Regions from separate parts of the Homo sapiens genome. Here region 1 is linked to region 2. The links are contacts of gene promoters, found by promoter capture Hi-C in human tissues and cell types (Jung and others, 2019). All regions are on one chromosome and are shown on one strand. Each heading gives the region's core, a stretch centred on a gene start or on the middle of the fragment in contact. The rest is flanking DNA. Distances are from core to core; before and after follow the strand shown.

Region 1 (6,332 bases), core at 2,955-5,454, 340 kb before region 2:
GGCCAGGCTGGTCTCAAACTCCTGACCTCAGGTGATCCACCTGCCTCGGACTCCCAAAGTGCTGGGATTACAGGCGTAAGCCACCAAGCCTGGCCCATAAGGACTTTCAGTAAGAATTTGCACTTCTGATGAATTGCAGGTAATCCTGATACTGCTGGTCCAAGAGCCACACATTAAAAACCAAGGTACTAGTGCTATCCATTAGTGCTATCCACATGACTATTCTATGCAATTCTACTCCTAGGTATATACAATCAAAAGAAAGAAATGCATGTGTTCACCAAAATACACACAAGAGTACTCACAGAAGCTTTATTTATACTAGCTAACAACTAGAAATAAACAAGATGTCCAATAAGAATAAATTGTGCTATACTTACATTTATACAACATATATTTATACAATTATACAATGGAATATTACACAGCAATGCAAAAGAACTACTGCTTCACACAATATGGATGTATACTCATGTAATGATTAAAGCAAAAACAGACTGCCTACATTGAACGAACCACCTACTATATGATTCTGTTTATGAGTCAAGAACAAGCAAAATGAGCTGATGGTGATGAAGGTGAAAACAGGAGTCAGCAGGACAGTAAGAAGAATTGCTGGCTGGGAAGGAGCATGAAGGAACTTTATAAATGGAGATGCTCTATATCTTGATCTGGGTGGTGTACATATACGTAAAAACTCATCAAACTGTAGAGTTAAAATTTGTGTTATTTACATATTATCATATATGTCTCAATAAAAAATTTAAGGCTGGGCACGGTCATACCTGTAATCCTAGCACTTTGGGAGGCTGAGGTGGGCGGATCACCTGAGATCAGGAGTTTGAGACCAGCCTGGCCAACATGGCGAAACCCCATCTCTACTAAAAAGTACAAAAATTAGCCGGATGTGGTGGTGTGCACCTGTAATTCCAGCTACTTGGGAGGCTGAGGCAGGAGAATCACTTGAACCTGGGAGGCAGAGGTGAGCCGAGATTGTGCCATTGCACTCCAGCCTGGGTGACAGAGTGAGACCCCGTCTCAAAAATAATAATAATAATAAGTAAAATAAGATGGAAAATGATAATGAAGTTCATTATATTAATATTCTTTAAAAGCAACTTTTTTTTTTTTTTTTGAGACAGAGTCTCTCTCTGTCACCCAGGCTGGAGTGCAGTGTCATGATCTCAGCTCACCGCAACCTCCGCTTCCCAGGTTCAAGAGATTCTCCTGCCTCAGCCTCCCGAGTAGCTGGGACAACAGGTGCATACCACTACACCTGGCTAATTCTTTTTTTGTATTTTTAGTACAAACAGCGTTTCAACATGTTGGCCAGGCTGCTCTCCAACTCCTAACCTCAAGCGATCCGCCCCACTTGGCCTCCCAAAGTGCTGGGATTACAGACATGAGCCACTGCGCCCAGCCTAAAAGCAACTTTTATATAAACTAGATTTCCAAAGGAAGCACTAGGCCTAACATGACAATTAAGAAATGTAAATTCAAAGTAATAGCTATCTAATATAAGGAATTATGGAGAAAAATTCTCACTGCTTCCTGTAACATTATCCCAAAACTGATCCCAGAAGACTTATTGCTGGTATCTAAAGGTCTATATATTTAGATTCAAAAAACATACCTGGACCCCAAAAGGCCTTACAGGACCTGGCTCCTAGTTTCCTGTCCAACCTTACCTCCTAATCAAATGGGCCCTCTAATAAAAAAGGGCCTTTTTGCTGCTCCATACACAGGCCCACTTCATTCCTACTTCAGGATCTCTGCACTGGCTCTTGGTCCTGACTGGAATGCTCTTTCCCCAGAGGTTCCAAGCTAATTCTCTTGTTCCTTCAGGTCTCTGCTCAAATATCACCTTAACAGAGCCTCTAGTACCCTGTGGCACATTTCTTATAAAAGCCATAGCTAGAAAAGACGCTGTCTTGCCTCAAATTGTTAACCTTACTTATGTTAGATCATAACAACAAAACAGGGTTTCCTTTTTTTCTGTGCTTTAAAGCAAAAAGAAACAAACAAAACAAAAAACAAAAAAGATCTCCTGTTAAAATTCTGTGACCCACAGCATCATTTATCTTTAGCTTAGTCTCTTCTTCAACTCTTATCAACTCTTGCTCTTTTACATTCCTTTACAGCTTTATAGTTTGTCTTCACTGCACACCTACAAGCAGTGATCTCTAGGTTAGCTAAGTATATAACTAAGACTAACCCATAGCAATGAGCGCCTTTGCACACAGCAACTCCTAAAAAATTTTTTGATAAATAAACAAATGAGTGAATAATGAACTATGACAAGACATCTGGAAAGTTTCCGGGACGTGAGGGAAGAGGTTTTTGTTCCAGTAGACTGACTTCATACCGACACTTTTACATAAGAATGGCAACAATGATTGTCAAAAGAAAAAATTAATTTTCATCGAGCCCAGAGTCCACTTTTCTCTTCTAGTCATTAAAAAAAAAAATCCTTTCAGCCCAACTGCAGATGCCAACCATGCTCCCAATAAATAGAGGAAGTTTTTCTCAGAAGCTTCAGGAATGCAAGAGTCTGGAAGTGGAAAGGGCAAGACAGGAGTCTGAGGTAACGCGGCTACCGTGAGAGAGAGAAAGGAGACCGAGAATCTCAATACTGGGGCTGAGACGCAGCATCACTAGAGCCTGAGTCCTAATCAGGCGGTGCTGGAAGGAGGCGGGTCAGCCGGGAGTGGAGGAAGCAGAAAAGGCTCTCCCACCTCTAACGCCGCCTGGGGGTCCTGGTCGATTAGAGCATCTGAGAAGCTCTGGAAAAACCTGTCAGGAAAACAACGACTTCAGCAGGGCCCACTAACCAAGGAAAGGGGTATAAAATAAATAGCAAAGGGAAGGAAAAACACGCACCTCTGGGATGCTGCAGGTCCTGCGGCAGCCGCCGCCATTCCTCGTAGTCAATGTTGCTGCCGCCGGAGCTGCTACTATCGCGCTCAGCAGCTCCGCCACCGACCAAGGGGGAAAACTTCTGCAGAAACATCAACCGAGCTTCCGTCTTAAGCAGCCAACGAGCAGCCACGCAGCGTGCTGCTAGCGGGACGGGAGGCGACACGCGGGCGCGTGGCCGGCTGGGACAGTGGAGGACCGAGTCCTCCCAGCCCGCAACCCGGCCCGGGACCTGCGCTCCCAGTCCCCGCCCATCGTAGCCATGTTTACGGAGGCCTGGGCCTACAGGTTCTCCCTCTTTTCCACCGCGCCCACGTCCGCGGGCACTCCGACCGAGCCTCCAGGAGTAGTAGCTCAGAAGCACTTTTGTAACATACTGTTATCCCTCAAGAACGTGTACGCGCAGGGGCGTTTCCTTGTCCGTTAATAACACAAGCTACAGGCCGAGCGTGGTGGCTCACACCTGTAATCCCAGCACTTTGGGAGGCCGAGACGGGTGGATCACGAGGTCAGGAATTCAAGACCAGCCTGGCCAAGATGCTGAAACCCCGTCTACTAAAAATATAAAAACTAGCCGGGCGTGGTGGCACGCGCCTGTAATCCCAGCTACTCGGGAGGATGAGGCAGGAGAATCCCTTGAACCCGGGCGGCAGAGGTTGCAGTAAGCCGAGATCGGACCACTGTACTCCAGCCTGGGCGACAGAGCAAGACTCCGTCTCAAAAAAAAAAAAAAAAAAAAAAAAAAAAAAAAATATATATATATATATATATATATATATATAAAACACAAGCTACTTCGAGCTCCGTTTTCCCTGGGTTTTATCATGGCTTTCGTCTCCGTGATGTCACTGGCGGCTGCGTGGTCTTTTCAGTGAACAGAGGGGCCTGGATGGCGCCTGGATTCCCGCGATCATTGCGCTGGGAATGGAAAAGGGCTGGGACTCGCTAGAAGTCGTTCTGACCTAGCAGCGGCTAAAAGCCTTCTGGTGCCCGGGGAGACGCGCCCGGCGCCCGCGTACTATTCATTCCCTTCCTCATAACTCCACAGCCCAGGCTTTCTTCTTAGTGGGCTTCCCAGATCAAGAAGGAAAACCTTTTCTATACGAAAGCACTGAGGGGCGGAAGGTGGCCTGAAGTGATCTCAGGGCCGCTTTGTTTCCCAACCCAGTCGTTCAGGTCCTCCCTCAGCGCCCTTTGACCCATGCACATCCCATGGGGAAAGCTGCCAGCGCGTTCCAGGGGTGGGGTCAGATTGAGGAGCTGGAGGGAGTGGTCTTTATCTGACTTTATACCACTACCAAACTGTGTTAATTAACGTAGCTTTATAATAAGTCTTGAAGTCCTTTATTCTCCCAAGATTGCTTTGGCTTATTCTAAGGCCATTGTATTTCTAGGTGATTTTGGAATTAGCTTGTCAGTTTTAAAAAAAACAAAACTGCTGGGACTTGTACTGGGCTTGCATTGGATCTATAGATCTGTTTGGGGATAACTAGTATATTAACAATATTAAGTCCTTCAATCCATTTAAGTGGCCGTTTATTTAAGTGGCCTCTAATTTCTCCTGGCAATGTTTTGTAGATTATACACATATTTATACTTTAATGCAGCTGTGTTTGGATAGACTGCAGTATAGAGATCAAACATATCTTTCATTAGATTTCTTTTTGAATAGTGTTTTGAATGCGATGTTAAATAGCATTTTTTAAATATTCTCGTTTGTTGTAAGACTATAGAAACGCTATTGATTTTTACATATTGATGTTACATTCAAGCATCTTGCTAAGTTCCCTTATTATTTGTAATACTGTGTAGAGTCTTTTGGAATTTATGTGATGACAATCTTGCAATCGTGAATAAAGATGGTTTAACTTCTCTGTAATCTTTATACGTTTTAGTTTTGTTGCTGGCTAGTATGTCCACTATTGAATAGAAATAGTGATAATGGACTTCCTTGTCTTGGTTGTAACATCAAGAGGAAAGCATTCAATATCAAGTGCTTTTTCTGCCTTTATTGAAATGTTCATATGTATTTTTTAATAATAATATGTTATATAGTAATTTTAAAAATATTTTTAATAATAATGTTACAATGTAACCAATTACATTGGTTAATTTTCACTTGTTATCTAAATGGCCAGTTGTCCTTCCAGATCCCCATTGATTCCGATTGGGATGGTACTATAGGAGAGGCAGAGCCAGCTAAGGAGATATAAGGTTTATTCAGGACTTACATACAGGGGTGGTCCAGTGGTGGTGGGGTGGCCTGGAGAACCACTACTGTTCATAAAAAAAAGCATGTAGTCTATATAGCATTTTCACTTAGCACCCTCCTTCTAGCAACCTCCATTTAACCCAAAACAAAGGGCCTTGCTCCACTGTACAGCCTGTGTTCTAAGAGATGGAGCAGGGGTGTGGATGTCTTTCATAGATAAGGAGTGAATCTTAGTGTTGGCTACTCCTGGCTTCCTTAGCCTAGGACTCCAAACACACTTAGAATAGGGTTATTCTCAGTATGCTCCAGTTATGGCTCAGCCATACACCAAGGTGTGTACACCAGCCCCTGCCATGCACCAATATGCATATAAATATGAATAGCCTCTGAAAGGGCAAATTCCAAGATTGACCTATAGGTCCAACATGAAAAGTTCTATATTAATAGCTATGTCATGGCCAGGCGCAGTGGCTCACGCCTGTAATTCCAACATTTTGGGAGCTTGAGGTGGGTGGCTCCCTTGAGGCCAGGAGTTGGAGACCAGCCTGGGCAGCATGACAAAACCCCATCTCTACTAAAAATACAAAAATTAACTGGGCGTGGTGGTGAGCACCTGTAATCCCAGCTACTAGGGAGGCTGAGGCACAAAATTGCTCGAACCTGGGAGGCGGAGGTTGCAGTGAGCAAGGTGGCACCACTGCACTACAGCCTGGGCAATAGAGTCAGACTGTCTCAAAAAAAAAAAAATAGCTGTATCATGGACATTGAAATTATGAGATTCCAAAACTACCACCAGAATGGCTTAAATTAAAGGACTTCCAATACCAAGCATTGACAAGAATATGGAGCAACTATATGTTTCATATATTGTTGATGAGAGTTTAAATTAGTTGATCATTTTGGAAAACTGTGTGACACGGTATTAGTCTGTTCTTGCATTGCTATAAAGAAATACCTGAGACTGGGTAATTTATAAAGAAAAAATGTTTAATTGGCTCATGGTTCTGCAGACTGCACAAGAAGCATAGCAGCTTCTGCTTTTGGGGAGCCCTCAGGAAGCTTCCAATCATAGCAGAAGGCAAAGGTAGAGCCGGCATCTTACGTGGCAGGAGCAAGAGCAAGTAGGGTGGGGGGAGGTGCCACACACTTTTAAACAACCAGCTTTCCCAAGAACTCATTCACTGTTGCGAGGACAGTACCAAGG
Region 2 (5,967 bases), core at 2,655-5,154:
AGCCTGGGCGACAGAGCGAGACTCCGTCTCAAAAAAAAAAAAAAAAAAAACATAAAAATAAAAAATAAAAGCTTCCTTCCTGGTTCCACTAATGCGCAGTCCCCTCCAGGAAGATTTACCCAATCAATCCAGGCTGGTTTGAGTGCCCTCTCCTCTTTGCTCCCATGAAACTGTGCCTCCCTCTAGTAGAGCAGGTCTCACATTATAAACAATACTTAAATAAGTTTCTCTCACTGGACCATAGAAGCCCACTGATGGGGTAGGAACTGTATGTGTAGCCCTAGTATGTAGGTACAGTGTTCAATAAAGGTCTGCTCAATAAAATAAAGCTTCTGAAAAGACCAACATTTTGTCTCCCAGACCTTGAGACCACGGGAAGTACCACGAGGAGCCTGTTTACTTAGTACATTGATCTTTAGTAGCTAAAGTGTGTCAAATACTCTGGGTACAGAGTCCTGTTCTTTCCAAGTGTTGAGCTTATTACTTGTAGGTTTTTTTAAAAGACTGAGTTCAGGCCAGCCTCAGTGGCTCGGTGGCTATAATCATATCGCTTTGGAAAGCCCTGGCACAATAGTCCTAGCTACTCAGGATGCTGAAGTGGGGGGCCAGGACTTACAGGTTACAGTGAGCTACGATTGAGTCACTGCACTCCTGCCTGGGCAACAAGTGAGAACCTGCTTCTGTGGGAAAAAAAAAACAAAGACTAAGTTCAATAAAGCTTTAACTTAGAAAATCAAATCTGTACTTACACACACGCATATAAGTGTGTGGTTTTTTTTTTCATAGCCCTTATGCAGGACACATAAGTATCTTTTACCTACTTTTACACATTGATTCTAATTCTTCAATTGCTTGTTCAGTCTCCTGAATTTCTTGGTAAATGGCTGCAAGAGGTGCCAACTCAGCATGCCTTCTGTTCAAGGACCTTCGGTTTTCCTCATTCACAGGGATATGCTGCAGACATTGCTCAAGTGTTTGGTACTCCTTACTCAGGTTCTCCATATATTTCTGTAGTGCTTTATGCTTCCAGAGCATCTTGGTGTCTTGATGGCAATATCTCCTGGACCAATTCTTACTTAACAGATGAAGAATGCAATTCCTGTTTTGTCTAAAAACTTGCAGCCTTGTATCAAGATGTATCTGTCTAAATTGATGAGAATGGAGCTGGATGTGACACTGGAGGTAACCATTAAGAGATGGATGTCTAAAAAGCCAAACACACAGGTGACGATTCATCTCAGCATCTGAAATACAATAAACACAGTCTTTAAAAAAAAATCATCTCTAAAGATACATGCATAATAAACCTGGAAGGAACATCAAGAAATCTTGTTTCATCTACTGCCTCAGCCAGCTCCACAGTCTTAAAATTCAACTGCCGGCTGGCAGCAGTGGCTCACGCCAGTAATCCCAGCACTTTGGGAGGCTGAGGCAGGCGGATCACCTGAGGGCAGGAGTTCGAGACCAGCCCAGCCAACATAGTGAAACACTGTCTCTACTAAAAATACAAAAATTATCCGGGCGTGGTGGCAGGCGCCTGTAATCCCAGCTACTCAGGAGTCTGAGGCAGGAGAATTGCCTGAACCCAGGAGGCAGAGGTTGCAGTGAGCCGAGATCATGCCATTGCACTCCAGCAAGGGGGACAATACCAAGACTTCGTCTCAAAAAAAAAAAAAATTCAGCTGCCTACAGAAAGAACATAATTCTTCAAATGTATGAATAACATATTAAAATAAATAAAAACAGCACTGCTTCCTACCTGTTCAACATATATAATTAACTGAAGCATATGAGTAGGAGTACAACTAACAAATATATCAATTGAATGAGTTAAGTCAGTTATTTTCTAGAAAGTATCTAGAATCTAGAATTGAGTGTGTAAACAAGCTCTTGAAAGCTATGAAAACATACAAACTTAAGGCGGTTCATAAAGTCATTTTCTAAAGTTTGAAGAAAATATTATTATCTTGTATAATTCTTTAACTTTAAGGATCTAGATATCCAAGGAAGTCAAGTAACTTAATCACGACTATTCAGTCGGCTGGATGGAGACAGAGCTGGTATTAGAATGTAAGTTGCCTGTTCAGGACTCAGTAATTTTCACTCTCAATTGTGCAATCACTTTTCAAAAATGCTTCCCGTTTAGCTGAGATCCTAAAGGAAGAAAAGTTCAAGTATTAATAGACCAAGAAAGTAGGGCTGGTGAAAAGCTCTACAGTTATATTAAATGGTGACAATTATATTAAGCAAGAAAGGCAAGGAACAAAATAGAATCTCAATTACATTTAAAAAATATTCTACAATATAAGGTATACATGTAAAAAAAAAAAAGCACATAGAGTATTTTTTAAAAAGAAAGTTAAATAAGAAACATACCAAAATGTGCCGAGCACAGTGGCTCACGCCTGTAATCCTACCACTTTGGGAGGCCGAGGCGGGCAGATCATCTGAGGTCAGGAGTTCGAGACCAGCCTGGCCAACATGGGAAAACCCCATCTCTACTAAAAATACCAAAAAAATTAGCTGAGCGTGATGGCACACACCTGTAGTCCTAGCTGCTCGGGAAGCTGAGGCAGGATAATCGCTTGAACCTGGGAGGCGAAGGTTGCAGTGAACTGAGATCGCACCACTGCAACCAGCGTGGGCGACAAAGCAACACGCTGTCTCAAAAAAAAAAAAAAAAAAAGAAACATACCAAAATGTTAATAAAATGATCTCTAGTTGTGAGATTATGAATACCTTTTGCTTGCTATTTTTTCTACTTTTCAGTGTTTTCCAAGTTTCTTGCACATGTAGCATGGAATACTTTCCTAATCATAAAAAAAGATTAGTTTAAAAAATTACAGGTTAGGTGAAATTGGCTGTGTACAATAATTTTCTGTTCTCCTCCCCTCCAACAGAGATAATCAAGAGCTAACAAAAGTACACAATGGTCTTACTGAGTAAGAAAGGGAGAATATAAAGTGTTCTAAGAAAACTCTAAGGTTCAAAGTTGAAATAAGGGTCAAGCCACGCACAGTAGCATGCACCTATTGTCCCAGCTACCCAGGAGACTGAGGCAGGAGGATCACTTGAGCCAAGGAGTTCAAGGCCAGCCTGGGCAACACAGTGAGACTCAACTCAAAAAAAGAAGGATCAACATTTATCAAAATCAAACTTTACTGTCTCCAGTGATCCTACTATGCTAGGAGGTGCATTGATATATTAGCTCATTTGTTCACTATAAGTCTGTTAACTTAGCATTATCACCTAGGAAATAAAATAGTCAGAATGGTCTTTAAAATATTCAGTTTCCAGAGTTCTACTGATAGATTTTAGGATACTGCATCACATTATTAAAAGAACTGTTGAAGAAAGCACCAATGGCCAGCTGTCACAAACGTTACACTCCACCACCCCCGTATTTCAAGCACGTTAGAGAAAGTGTATCCATTTGCTAACAGACAGAATAAAAGGATGACAAATATATGTTTGTACGAATACTTATTGCTAAAATTTCCATTTTAGGAACAGTAGTAGAATGCATAATTTTCAAGGTCATGAATCTCAACATTAAGGAAAACAAAACAAAACAAGATGTTTACTCTCCAAGGTTAACTACACCTGAGAACAGCACGACTTCTCCATTACCCATCACAGTAACAGTATTACTCTGATGCTTTGGGGAAAGTTCTGAGTGTAGGCAGGTCAGAAGCGACAGCCCGCGGGGCAGCAGCACGGGCAAACCATGCTGTGTAACTCAGTATATGGAGTGATTCCATAAAGAGGCAATACAGGAGGCGGCGGGGAAGATCAGGAAAGAACTGTGAGTACCTAAGAAAAAGAAGAATACACGTTAGCTCTCTTTACTGAGGTCGGAACCTTCCGAGACCCGCCACATTTCAGCCCGACAAACCCGAGATCACGTTCACTTCCTGGTTCACTTCTTCCGGGTTAACGCACGCTCCCGGCCCCTCCTCCGCCACTACCGCTCTCCGGAGGAGTTGTCCTCGAGCATGCCTAACAATGGACTAAAATGACAAAAATGAGCTAAATGAGAAAAATGACAAAACGAGAATGAAATTGTCATCAGACAACCGCCCCCGCGCCGTCCTTATCCAGAGCGTGAGCCCAGAGCGGGGATGGAGATGGTGGGAGGGAGGGAGGGAGGGAGGGGCCAAGGTGGGACTAAACTACAACTCCCAGAGCGCCCACCAAAGAATCCTGGGAGTTGTAGTTTACCTTGCGGCAGCCTCCAACCCCCTCCACTCACTATCCAGCCAAATGTGGAGTTTTTGGTTTTCACCGTTAACTGCAAACCTAGAAGAGAGATTCTTTACGATTCTGATTAAGAGATCAAGATTTAGAACACATTGCATGTGAAATTACAATAATTTCCTTATGTATTAGAAGCCCGTAAAGCACTGTTTTCCAATATTTAAAAAAAATAAAGACTCCTTTTACATCATCCACAAATGTAGAAGATTCTGCGTGTAATTTCTATACTTTCAGCTTCCATTGCTTCAGAAAATACCTAATGACTAAAGGATAATACAAATAAATTTATATTTTAAAAGTAGTAACAGCCCCAAAAGTTAGGAGACCGTGTATTTCCACATGTTAGTGATTTTATAATGTTCTTTGCACATGGGAATGTAGGGGCTCAACCTAGATTCATAGCTTATGAACCACTGATTAAGTGAAGAATGAAAACTCCAGTTAATAAACAATTGCAGGAAAATGCAAGCATATTGTCCTACTTTGACTAATCCAGTGGGATCCAGCCCTTGGCTATCGCAATTTACAGTCTTTCTATCTCCATGCCTCAATTTTTCTTCCTGAAAGAAAAGGCAAAAAATGTACCATATTACTGACTTTACAGAGTATTTTCTTAGATTATAATCACATACATAGATAGGAGAATTAGCTATATATGCAAAATAATATCTAACGTTTATAGCCAACTTCAAGGTACCTACTTCTATGTACTATGTACTAAATACTGTTCTAAATGGTTTTACCCTATTAATTCATTTAATTTTTACAACCTTAAAATACTTATTTTGCAGAGGAGAAAATTAAGGCACACAGAGCTAAAGTAACTACTCCAAGGTAAAAAACAGTAAGTGATAGAGCCAAGACTCAATTAAGGCAATGGCTTTAATGATCTGTGGCTCCTAAGCTCTGATATAGGGCCACCCTGCTCCAAAAAAGAAAAAACCTTCAATCATGTATTCAATAAATAGTGAACACCAGTTATGTGCTATTCACTATTCTAGTCATGAGGATTTAGCAATGAACAGAAAAGACAAAAACCTTTGCCCACATGGAGCTTATGTTCCAGTAGGGGAAAAGTTTCAAAGGGTCTACATAAAGTCATTCTCCTAAGTTATCCAAAAAGTTCTTTAATTATTTATTCTGATTTGTGCTTTCAGCTATATAACTTGAGTATTATATATAAAGCTTTATTCTCCTTAAAAAATTAGTCTTAGTCGGGCGTGGTGGTTCACGCCTGTAATCCTAGCACTTTGGGAGGCCGAGCCAGGTGGATCACCTGAGGTCAGGAGTTCGAAACCAGCCTGACCAACATGGAGAAACCCCATCTCTACTAAAAATACAAAATTAGCTGGGCGTGGTGGCTCATGCTTGTAATCCTAGCTACTCGGAGGCTGAGGCAGGAGAATCGCTTGAACCCAGGAGACAGAGGTGGCAGTGAGCCAAGATTGCACCATTGCACTCCAGCCTGGGCAACAAGAGTGAAACTCCGTCTCAAAAAAAAAAAAAAGTAGTCTTACTGCTATGGACTGAATTGTTTATATTCATAATCATGTGCATATTACTAATATTTATTTTTAAAATTCATATATTGAAGCCCTAACCCCTCCAATACATGTGTCTGTATTGGAGATAGGGCCTTTAAGGTGATTAAGGTCAGATGAGGTCGTAAGAGTAGAGCCCTGACATAATAGGATTAGTGCCTTTCTAAAA

Evidence for each region. Contacts are between HindIII fragments. The study calls those that stand out against the background at their distance.
Region 1: a fragment that was not itself captured here is called in contact with the fragment with the promoter of MTRF1 in region 2 in 1 of the 25 tissues and cell types used here (aorta).

The regions. Positions count from the first base shown.
Region 1 is chr13:40,918,739-40,925,070 of GRCh38, forward strand. It overlaps the pseudogene TPTE2P5 and the pseudogene SUGT1P3. Among named protein-coding and RNA genes, the nearest start is that of ELF1, 97 kb to the right of the region's middle. RefSeq lists enhancers at 2,985-3,571, 3,215-3,264 and a silencer at 5,175-5,469. The HindIII fragment of the contact is 5,567 bases long and covers 1,422-6,332 here.
Region 2 is chr13:41,259,672-41,265,638 of GRCh38, forward strand. It overlaps MTRF1 (mitochondrial translation release factor 1), which reads right to left and starts at 3,905. Exons shown (of 10, transcript NM_004294.4): 1 at 3,814-3,905; 2 at 822-1,244. The coding sequence starts at 1,236. RefSeq lists an enhancer at 3,323-3,823 and a silencer at 4,111-4,200. The HindIII fragment of the contact is 6,309 bases long and covers 524-5,967 here.